Linked DNA regions of Homo sapiens: region 2 is linked to region 1. Evidence: promoter capture Hi-C in human tissues and cell types (Jung and others, 2019). All regions are on one chromosome and are shown on one strand. Each heading gives the region's core, a stretch centred on a gene start or on the middle of the fragment in contact. The rest is flanking DNA. Distances are from core to core; before and after follow the strand shown. Region 1 holds the start of FOXF2 (forkhead box F2). Region 2 overlaps LOC105374870 (a long non-coding RNA gene).

What was found. Contacts are between HindIII fragments. The study calls those that stand out against the background at their distance.
Region 2: a contact is called between a fragment that was not itself captured here and the fragment with the promoter of FOXF2 in region 1, in 1 of the 25 tissues and cell types used here (dorsolateral prefrontal cortex).

The regions. Positions count from the first base shown.
Region 1 is chr6:1,386,978-1,391,820 of GRCh38, reverse strand. FOXF2 (forkhead box F2) reads right to left here and starts at 2,245. Exons shown (of 2, transcript NM_001452.2): 1 at 703-2,245. The coding sequence starts at 1,873. It overlaps FOXF2-DT (FOXF2 divergent transcript), which reads left to right and starts at 2,360. Exons shown (of 3, transcript NR_187218.1): 1 at 2,360-2,802. It overlaps MIR6720 (microRNA 6720), which reads left to right and starts at 1,410; the gene lies at 1,410-1,507. RefSeq lists an enhancer at 198-1,063. The HindIII fragment of the contact is 13,823 bases long and covers 1-4,843 here.
Region 2 is chr6:234,273-239,014 of GRCh38, reverse strand. LOC105374870 (a long non-coding RNA gene) reads right to left here. Exons shown (of 3, transcript XR_926357.3): 2 at 3,900-4,012; 3 at 1,881-2,382. Among named protein-coding and RNA genes, the nearest start is that of LINC03066, 31 kb to the right of the region's middle. RefSeq lists an enhancer at 2,892-2,981. The HindIII fragment of the contact is 4,723 bases long and covers 637-4,742 here.

The DNA.
Region 1 (4,843 bases), core at 996-3,495:
CTCAGGGGAGTCCTAGCAGGGTCCTTCAGGTCCTGCCACCCAGGACCTGTATCATCAATGTGGGTCCATTGTTGGGCGGGGGGGGAGGCAGGGAAGGGGAGGAGTCTCCAACAGTTTGGTGACCCCCTCCACTGGCAAATGTCCCTTTAGTGAAAGATCCTGGGATCCAGCTCTGTCCCTCCCACCCCCTCCTCTTAACACTTGCCCAGCTGCAAACATCTCGCTGCAGACACCCCAACATACAGAACATATCTGATTCTGACATTTACTTCGGGACAGAAGTACAGCAAAATGAACGCAAGGAAAAAAAGGGACAAAAGGAACTAGACACAGCTTCCTGACCAAGTTCCCCAAAGGCCAGATGCCTTCTCTCCAAGCTAAGTGAGACTCTGAACGGGAGACCTGCAGTCTCCTGCACAGGGATCCCCAAAGAGCCCAGGAAGGCAGGGGACTTTACACCACGCTCACAGCAGCCAGACAATTCTGAAGCTTCGGCTGCTGGCCAGGGATACTGGGAGGACAGTAAGACCCTGATCCCTGCTCCCACGAATAAGATGCCGGCTTTCCCCAGCATCTGCTTTTCCCAGTGCCCTCAGACCTCCTAGCTTCGGGGTCCCTGTTTGTGGGAGTGGCAGTGGCCGCCAGCCCTGGAGGCCTAGAAGCGGTGCGCCCAGCTGGCTGGGCTGGAGCGTGCTGCGTTACCTGAGAGGTCCTCGCGAGCGTTCTGGTGCAAGTAGCTCTGCTCCAGCGAGTAGGAGGACATGCTGGAGTGCAGGCCTGCCGAGGCGGCGGGGTTGCTGCTGGGCGTCAGGGCAGGCGGCTGCTTGAGGTAAGGCGAGGCGCCAGGCGAGCTCCAGTGCGCCGCAGGGCTCGTGTAGGGCGAGTGGCATTCGATGGCGCTCGCCATGGCCGGGGACGAGGGTACCGGGCTGCTGCTGCTGTCCGGCCCGTAGTCGCCGCCGCCGCCGCCCCCGGCCGCACCGACGCCCCCGGGTCCCGCGGGCACCGGGCAGCTGGCCATGTAGGTGGAACCCGGGTTGGGCGACATGTGCGGGACGTGGTGGTGGTGGTGGTGGTGAGGGTGCGCGTGGCTGGGGGCGCCCGCGCCGGCGTCGTAGCCCGCGGGCATCATGTCGAGGCCGCCGTAGCCGCCCTGGCTGTGGCAGCCGAGCGGCGCCGACGGGGGCGCCTGGAAGTCGAAGCCCTGGGGCAGCAGCGACGCCCCGAAGCCCAAGCCGCTCACCACGCGGTGGTACATGGGCTTGAGCGCCTGGCACTTCCGCCTGAAGCCGCGCGGCCGGCGGCGGAACGAGCCCTCCTCGAACATGAACTCGCTGGCCGGGTCGATGGTCCAGTAGTGGCCCTTGCCGGGCCGCCCGAGGCCCTTAGGCAGCTTGATGAAGCACTCGTTGAGCGAGAGATTGTGGCGCACCGAGTTCTTCCAGCCCTGGTAGGCGCCGCGGAAGAAGGGGAAGCGCGCCTGCAGGAACTGGTAGATCTCGCTGAGCGTCAGGCGCTTGCTGGGCGAGCTCTGGATGGCCATGACGATGAGCGCGATGTACGAGTAGGGCGGCTTCTCGGGCCGCCGCAGCCCCGAGCTCGCCTTCTTGGCGCCCCCGCTCCCGGCGCCCGCGCCGCCGCCGCCCGCGCTCTTGCAGGCAGCCGAGGGGGCGCTGGCCGAATTGGAGGAGGACGAGGACGAGGCGCAGGAGGCGGAGGACGACGACGAGGAGGAGGAGGTGGTCTCCGGGGCGGCGGCGGCGGCGGCGGCGGCGGCGGGCGGCGGGCTCATCAGGGCGGCCTGGAGCGCGCCGGGGACCGGGCTGCACGCGCGGCGGAGCGGGGCCGGCGGCGGCCCGCCCTCGGTGGTCATCTGGGACCCGGGAGCGAGGCCGGGCCGCGAGGGCGGGCCCCGGGCGGGAAGCGGAGGCGCCGGAGCGGGGTCGGCCCAGAAGCCCTGCGAGCGCCCTAGCCCGCCGCCCGGGCTGCAGCCGTGGCCACTCCGGGCCAGCGCTTCGGCGTCGCCTCCCTCAGCTCCTCTGGGGCTTCTGGCGGCGGCGGCGGCGGCGGGCGGGAGGCAACGCCCGGCGCATCCCTCCCCGAGCCGCGGGCCCTGCCTTGCGCAACGGCCTCCCAGGCCGCGGGGCCGAGCGGCCGGCGCCGGGCGACTGCGCCCGCGAGTGGGACCGCGGCCTGGACCCCGGGGACGAGCCCGACGTCTCCCTTCAGGAGCGCTCCTCGCTCTGTCTCTCGGACTTCCTCCCTCCCTCGCCCTCCCCGGCCGCCCTCCTCGCTCCCTCCCTCCCTCCCTCCCCCCCCACCCCGCCCTGCCCCCTCCTCGCTCCGCGCCGCCGCGCTCACTCCTCCCCCTCCCGACCTGGCGGCCGCCTCCCTCTCTTATCTCGCTCCCCGCTCTCCAGGGTCTCCTCGCTCTTCATTCCTCTCGCGGCCTCCTCCCCTTTCCCTCACTCACCCTCTTTCCAATTGAGGGATCACAGACTCACTCCGGTTCTGCCAGGGGGACGACCCCCACCCCTCGCAAAACTCGACCACCTCTGACTTCATGAAATATTCTTTCTGTTTGCCCCCCGCAGCAAGCCCCGCGTCCCATCCCAGGACCCAGCCCCGCCCCTCCGCGCCCCCTTCCTCCTCCTGGCCCGCCGGGCCGAGTGGTGCTGCTGCGGGTGCGGCTGCTCGGAGCCTCCCTGGCCGCCCTCCCCAGGGCCGATACTGACTCCATCTGTCAACTTCGTTTAGACTTTGCCGCCCTCAGCCACACGCCGGGGTGCCAGACGCCCAAAGGTAACGTGCCAATCCTCTCTCTTTCTGGCAGGGCCTGCAGGCTCCCCGACAATTGTTAGGGCGACTGGGGGCCGCCGCAGGGTTGCGGGCCGCTGGCGATCGTGGACGTTTTCGGAACTTTGAGCAGAGGGATTTACACTGAGAAACCTAGGCCAAGTTTCAAAGACTCTGGAAACCTGGATCTCATGGGACTTAGGGTTGCATTTGCTTCCACTTCTTCCCCCCACCCCCGCACCCCAGTTAGTGTTCTGTAAGAAAAAAGTGCAAAAGAAAAAGGAAGGAAGGAAGAAAAGAAAGAAAGAGAAAGAAAAAGAAAGACCCTGAGATAAGCGAGATGGCTATATTTATAGTCAGTCCTGAAGGGGTGTGCAGCTGTCACTAGGTTTACATCCTCCGTCTTAACATTGCCCACCCAAAACTGTGCCAGGTCTCAGCTAACTCCTGTCCGAGAACACTTCTCCCCAGTTGTGGCTAATTCCTCCCTAAGTAAGAGTCAGGCTCTGAGAGAGATGTGCCCTCGGGAGCAATCACTTCCAATGAGACCCGACAGTTAGTTATTGGATTACACGTGCAGGGAAATGTAGTCCGACCAGGGATAGGAGCTGGGAGAGGGAGGAGGAGAGCAGGAGGCCGGAGCTGGCGGGGCCTCCCAAGGGCTGAAGGGGGAGGCCCAGAAAGAAGGTGCTGCAGACCAGCGGACCAAACAGGAGGTAGAGCTGGGCACCCCGCTGCGTCTAGGCTGAAAGGACCGAGGTGCACGGGTGTGCCTGCTGGGGAGCCTGGGGAGTTGCAGGAGGCAGGAGAAAGGGAGGTTGTGCAGTAATCAGGAGGAAGACACCAGGCAAAGAGCCTTCACAGCCGCACAGCCTAGGCAGGCCCCCTGGGGCGGCAGGAGCCCTGTGTGCCCCTGGAGTGCCGGGGGACTGCTCCTGGCTGAGTGTGCTGGTGGGGCTGTAGATGCAGAGAGGGCGGGTGGGGAGGGGAGGGGTATGTGGGAGGGGGGTGGGCCGGGGCTGGCCCCAGACAGTGACCTGAGGTTGAGTGGAAGCAGGCTTTTTCCATCAAACCCTGCCTGGATACCACACACAGAGACCGAGTGTCAGTTTACTGCCCTGAGCCGGCTCCTTCTCCCTAAGCTCCACAGTAATTAGACAAAGAAAACCTAAATTAGCTGAACAGGCGTCGACAGCTTCCTCCAGAGCACCCCTGGTACCTACATGGGAATGTGTCCGAAAATGGCTTGATTGTAGCCGAGAGTCAGCTAAGAAAACACCGCCAAACCGAACTCAGTTTACCACTCATTTCCAATAGAAAAAAGAAACAAGTCGCTCTTTTCCGGGTGGGATGTTTTGATTGGGTTGGGGTAGGGCTTCGCAGTTGTTTCCACTTTCTAAGAATTTCTGACTGACTGCTGAGCGTTTTTGGGGGGTGCGTCCCCATATATTTCATGGTATTTTTTTCTCTTGCCCTCATTTGTCATTTTGTGTGGAATAACTTAAAAATACATAACTAAATATGAAAGTAAATATAATGTGTTCACTAAACCAATGCTCTAAGTGCCTAAAATATAATTATTTTCATAAAATAGAAGCTGGAGTGGGGAGGACAGATAGGATCTTAAAGGAGCTCTACTGACATAGAGTTCAGTGTGTGTGTGTGTGTGTGTGTGTGTGTGTGTGTGCTTTAAATGGAAAGAGCCCAGGGGAGAAGCTTGTGGGGGAAAAGGACAATTATCTCATTTGTAGGTGGGGGCGGTGGGCAACGGGCTTTGGAAACATTCAGTACTCATTGTCACTTAGCCATGGACTCTCTCTGATTCTCTGTGCCTGAAAATTATATGTATTTGGATCTCAGGGAATACAGATCCAACTTGTTAAGAGCAGGCCTTAAAAGGTTTTAGGACCCGGAGACTGAAGAATAAAAGGCGCTAACCTTAAAATCCAGGCAGGACCAGTGATAACCTTCTATACTAGTAGCTCCCAGTTTTGGGGTTATGGGGTCATCCTCTGAGAATACGATGGAAGCTATGGAGCCAGTTTCC
Region 2 (4,742 bases), core at 1,749-4,248, 1.2 Mb after region 1:
GCTCACTGCAACCTCCGCCTCCTGGGTTCAAGCAATTCTCCTGCCTCAGCCTCCCAAGTAGCCGGGACTATAGGTGCACACCACTACGCCAGGCTAATTTTTTTGTATTTTTAGTAGAGATGGGGTTTCACCATGTTGGCCAGGCTGGTCTTGAACTCCCAATCTCAAATGATCCGCCTGCCTCGGCTTCCCCAAGTGCTGGGTATCTTTCCATTTAATAAGTTCTAATGTTTGATAACAGAGCAGTGTGGCTATAGTTAACACAATGTATTATGTATTTCAGAATAGCTACAAGAGAGGACTTGATGTGTACCCAACACGTGGAAATGATCAATATCTTGACTAGATCATCACACATTCTGTGCATGTACCCCACAAATATGTACTAATATAGCGTATCCAAAAAAATTAAAGTCAGCATATTGAAATATCATAAATAAACCAAAGTGAAACTAACTCCCCAAGTTAAATAAATGGATTCTCTTTTGTGTCTCAATTTCTTCAACATCAAACCTTTTTTCATTTTAGTGAAGTATATTCTTCCAGAAATTAATATTGATTAACGTTAATATGTTAATATAATGTATATAGTAAGAACTCCCTCTCCCCTTACTAAGAAACTTCCCAACTACAATTTTCTCTTCAAGATTCTTCATGGTGCACATATCGTTTTAACATGCCACTTCCGTGTGTGTTCAAATCCTTTGTGGGACGATTTTCTTGTCCTTTTCAATTCTCCCTTCCCAGATTTGGTCTCAGGCTTCAACAGCTCCTGTGTTCTTGGATTTCAATGTCGCCAGTGATCATTAAGATCTGTTTGGCTCATGTGCTTGTGGGCCAAGTGATCCATTTTATAGGAAGAACAATGAGGAGGAGCGAGACAGTCAGCAAGAAAGTGGATTTACTGAAACAACACATGGGGCGTGGTGGATCTTTTGTTTGTTTTGGAAGGTTTTGCTTTGTTTTTTGGTGAACTCATTTCGAATTCAGCAAGAGGTATAATCTTTAACTTTCAGCTACAAACAAAACACCTGTCTCATTACCAGCCTGGGTAGGTGTGGAACACAAATGGTTTTTCATTTCTGTGAAGTATTCTTCGAGCTTGTATAGCCAAGAAGGCTTAACACTGTGCTGTTTTCTATTGGGCTTTCTGTGGGAGAAAAAAATTTGATGAAAAGAAAAGAATAGGCCGGGCGCAGTGGCTCACCCCTGTAATCCCAGCACTTTGGGAGGCCGAGGAGGATGGATCACTTGAGGTCAAGAGTTGGGGACCAGCCTGACCAACATGGTGAAACCCCGTCTCTACTAAAAATACAAAAATTAGCTGGACGTGGTGGCAGGTGCCTGTAATCCCAGCTACTCGGGAGGCTGAAGCAGGAGAATCGCTTGAACCCGGGAGGCGGAGCTTGCAGTGAGCCAAGATCGTGCCACTACACTCCAGCCTGGGTAACAAAGCGAGACTCCGTCTCAAAAAAAAAAATTGCATTTTGCACTTAGCAATATATCATTGATTTTTTAATATGGTGAAATATCATGTACAGCAAACTTTCATGGCTGCATGTTTCCTCCATTTTATGGAAGTACCCTAATACATTCAGCCAATCCCCTATTTGGGGACTTTCAGATTGTGTTGAATTATTAACTAATATTTAAGCAATACTTAAATAAATATTCTCTACATATATTTTAGGTGCATATGCAATTTTTTGCACAGGATTATAATTCTTCCAAGCAGAAGTGATAAGTGCTCAAAAGTTTTAAGATTTGTGACACCAATCACCAAGTTACCCACCACAAGATCTGATTATCATTTACATTTCTCCCATTAGTGACTGAGAAAATCCACGGTCCCCCAGCATGTCCAACAGGGACAACAGGGGTGTGCATTTGCGTTTATTAATATTTGGGCAAAAATGCCATTTCACTTTTGTTCTGTGCCAAGATCCTGGTTTTTGCTTGATCTTTCAGAGTCCTGAAGTCATGTGAAAGCAGACAAAAGTTAAACAGGCTGCAGCCACTAAGGAGCTCTCCTCCTCCTTTAGGATCAGAGTGATGCGGGCTCAGGGCTTCTGCCTTTTCTGTTGTTAGCAGACTTTCTCTGAAGCCCCAGGGGACTCGAGGTACAGTAGTAATGGGGGGATGGCTACAGGGTAAAGAAATTACCAGGAAAGAAAAAATGGAAATAGTAATTTGGGAAGATGGGCCAAGACTGGGCATGAGGTTTCTGGGTACCCAGCATGGCTCCAGCAAGAGAGGGAGCGGGGGGTGCTGGAGACTGTGGACAGAGCAATCCGGCCTTTGAGTCAGCAAAGTCCTGGGTGGGGAGGGCTAGAGAGCCTGATGTGGCTAAAAACAAGCTTCTGCCAACAGGTGAAATGGGCACTAAAGGAGAAATAAATTTCAGTTATTGAATATCAAAAGGGTTCCAGTTATTGTCCACACAGATTTGAGGTCCGAAATACAAAACTCCTACGTGATGGTAACCGTTCTTTTTAGAACCTCCTTCTCTCCATTACTGCCCCAGATAAAACTCCCCCTAGACATGAGCTTCCAGGGCCATGGAGAGAAGGCAGTAGGGTTGGGAAGGACGCAGGTTGTGGAACATTCCATGAGGATGTTCTTTCCATATTTATTTTTACTGCTTGGCCTTCTAGACCCAAATTCTCTAATTTTATCTTGTCAGTCTCTGTGAGTAAAAAATTCCACCTCTTCTCTCTCTGCTCTCCCCAGAGAGAAGTTTCTCTCTGTGAAAGAATTAACCACCCTGCCCCCAACAGTCATCAGTGTGTGGGTGACACCTCGTCCTGGATGAATCTTTTCAAGATAAGTTTCTTTTCTGCTTCATGGTATGTGAAAAAGTGGAAAATGAGGTGGAGAGAGAGAGACAGAGAGAGCAAGAACAAAAGAGAAAGTGAAAGAGAGACGGGGAGAGAGCAAGCACAAGAACAAAAGCAAGAGTGAGAGACAGATGGGGGGAGGGAAGAGGCAGAGGGAGAGGGAGAGGAAGAGGGAGAGGGAGCAGGACAGCTAGAGGGAAGTCAGCTCATCCTAGGAAGTTTCCAAACTTTTTCCTTTCTCTCCCTCCCCTCTGTTTTCCTTTTAGTTTGTCCCTTTACCTCCCCCTCCCCTTCCCTCCTCTCCCTCTCTCTCTTCTTTCTTCTCTTTCTCTCCTTCTTCCTTCCTTCCTTCCTTCCTTCCTTTCTTTCTTTCTTTCTTTCTTTCTTTTTCTTTCTCTCTCTCTCTCTCTTTCTTTCTTCCTCTCCTTTCTCTTCTTCTTTTCTTACTTTTCATTTTGATTGGGAAAATATTTACTTCACTCATCAAAACTTTCATCCTTTTGGAAGAAATCCTGACTCACAGTTCTAGGCCTATCTGGGCTCACTGAGGAAAGGACTGGGGGCATGGGATGAAATAGAGACTTCTTATGAAGAGGATTTCTGAGGAGGGATTTGAGTACAACTCACTGAACTTGGGAAAGGATAAAGATCACCCTCAAGGCTGGGCTCGGTGGCTCTTGCCTGTAATCCCAGCACTTCGGGAGGCCAAGGTGGGCGGATCACCTGAGGTTGGGAGTTTGAGACCAGCCTGGCCAACATGGTGAAACCCCATCTCCACTAAAAATACAAAAATTAGCTGGGTGTGGTGGTATGTGCCTGTAATTCCAGCTACTTGGGAGGCTAAGGCAGGAGAATTACTTGAACCCGGGTGGCAGAGGTTGCAGTGAGCTGAGATCTCACCACTGCACTCCAGCCTAGGTGACAGAGCGAGACTCCATCTTAATTAAAATAAAAAGAGAGAGAGAGAAAAAGAAAAAGATTGCCCTAGATGATTGACAGCCCCTCAGGAGGCCTCTTTCATCTCACAAGTTTCCCTCCACCCAAGGCACTTTCCCCTCTCACCTGCTTCTATCCAGGCATCATCCAGGGAAGTGACTTCAGCTTCAGAGGAACAGGAAGGGCAGGGGAGAGGAGATGACTACGGTGCTTGGTTCCAAGCAGCAAACCCCAGGCATCTGGAAGGGAGGCTGTTGTGGAGGGGCTGTTCTTGTTTACCAGCAGAGGGAGAGGTACCACCTTCACCCCCATGCACCTTTGCTTCCCTCAGTCTCTACACATCTCTCTGTCCCTGCAACCTAGAGGCCCCATAGGCAACCCTCCAATTTGTCACAGGCTCTTTCTCCTGATCACAGTAGTTAATAAAGATTCCTGGGCCAAAAGTCAGAAAGAACAAAGGCATCTTCTCCAAAGCTGATAGTGAGACCTCAGGAGAACCAGCCCAGCAGTGACCTATTTATTGCACCTAGTAAAGCTTGTATCCTGAGCTCAGCCCTTCCCAGGACTTTCTGTTAGGGCAGCACAAGGCATGGACTCAATCCTATAGGTCAGCATCCAGATCCCCAGTCCTCTGCTGTGCGTCTTTGGAAAGTTTCTTACCCTCTGAGCCTCAGACCCTGCATATGAGAAAGCCTGGCAAGGAGCAGCATTTGCTCAGGCTCAGTGACATTCGCCGTGACTGTCTCAAAAAGTGACAATTCCGAGACGGAATTTTGCTCTGTCACTCAGGCTGGAGTGCAGTGGCGTGATCTCCACGCACTGCAACCTCTGCCTCCTGGGTTCAAGCAATTCTCCTGCCTCAGCCTCCCAAGTAGCTGGGATTACAGGCACACGCCACCGCACCCAGCTAATTTTTGTATTTTTTTAGTAGAGATGGGGTTTCACCATGTTGGCTAGGCTGGTCTCGAA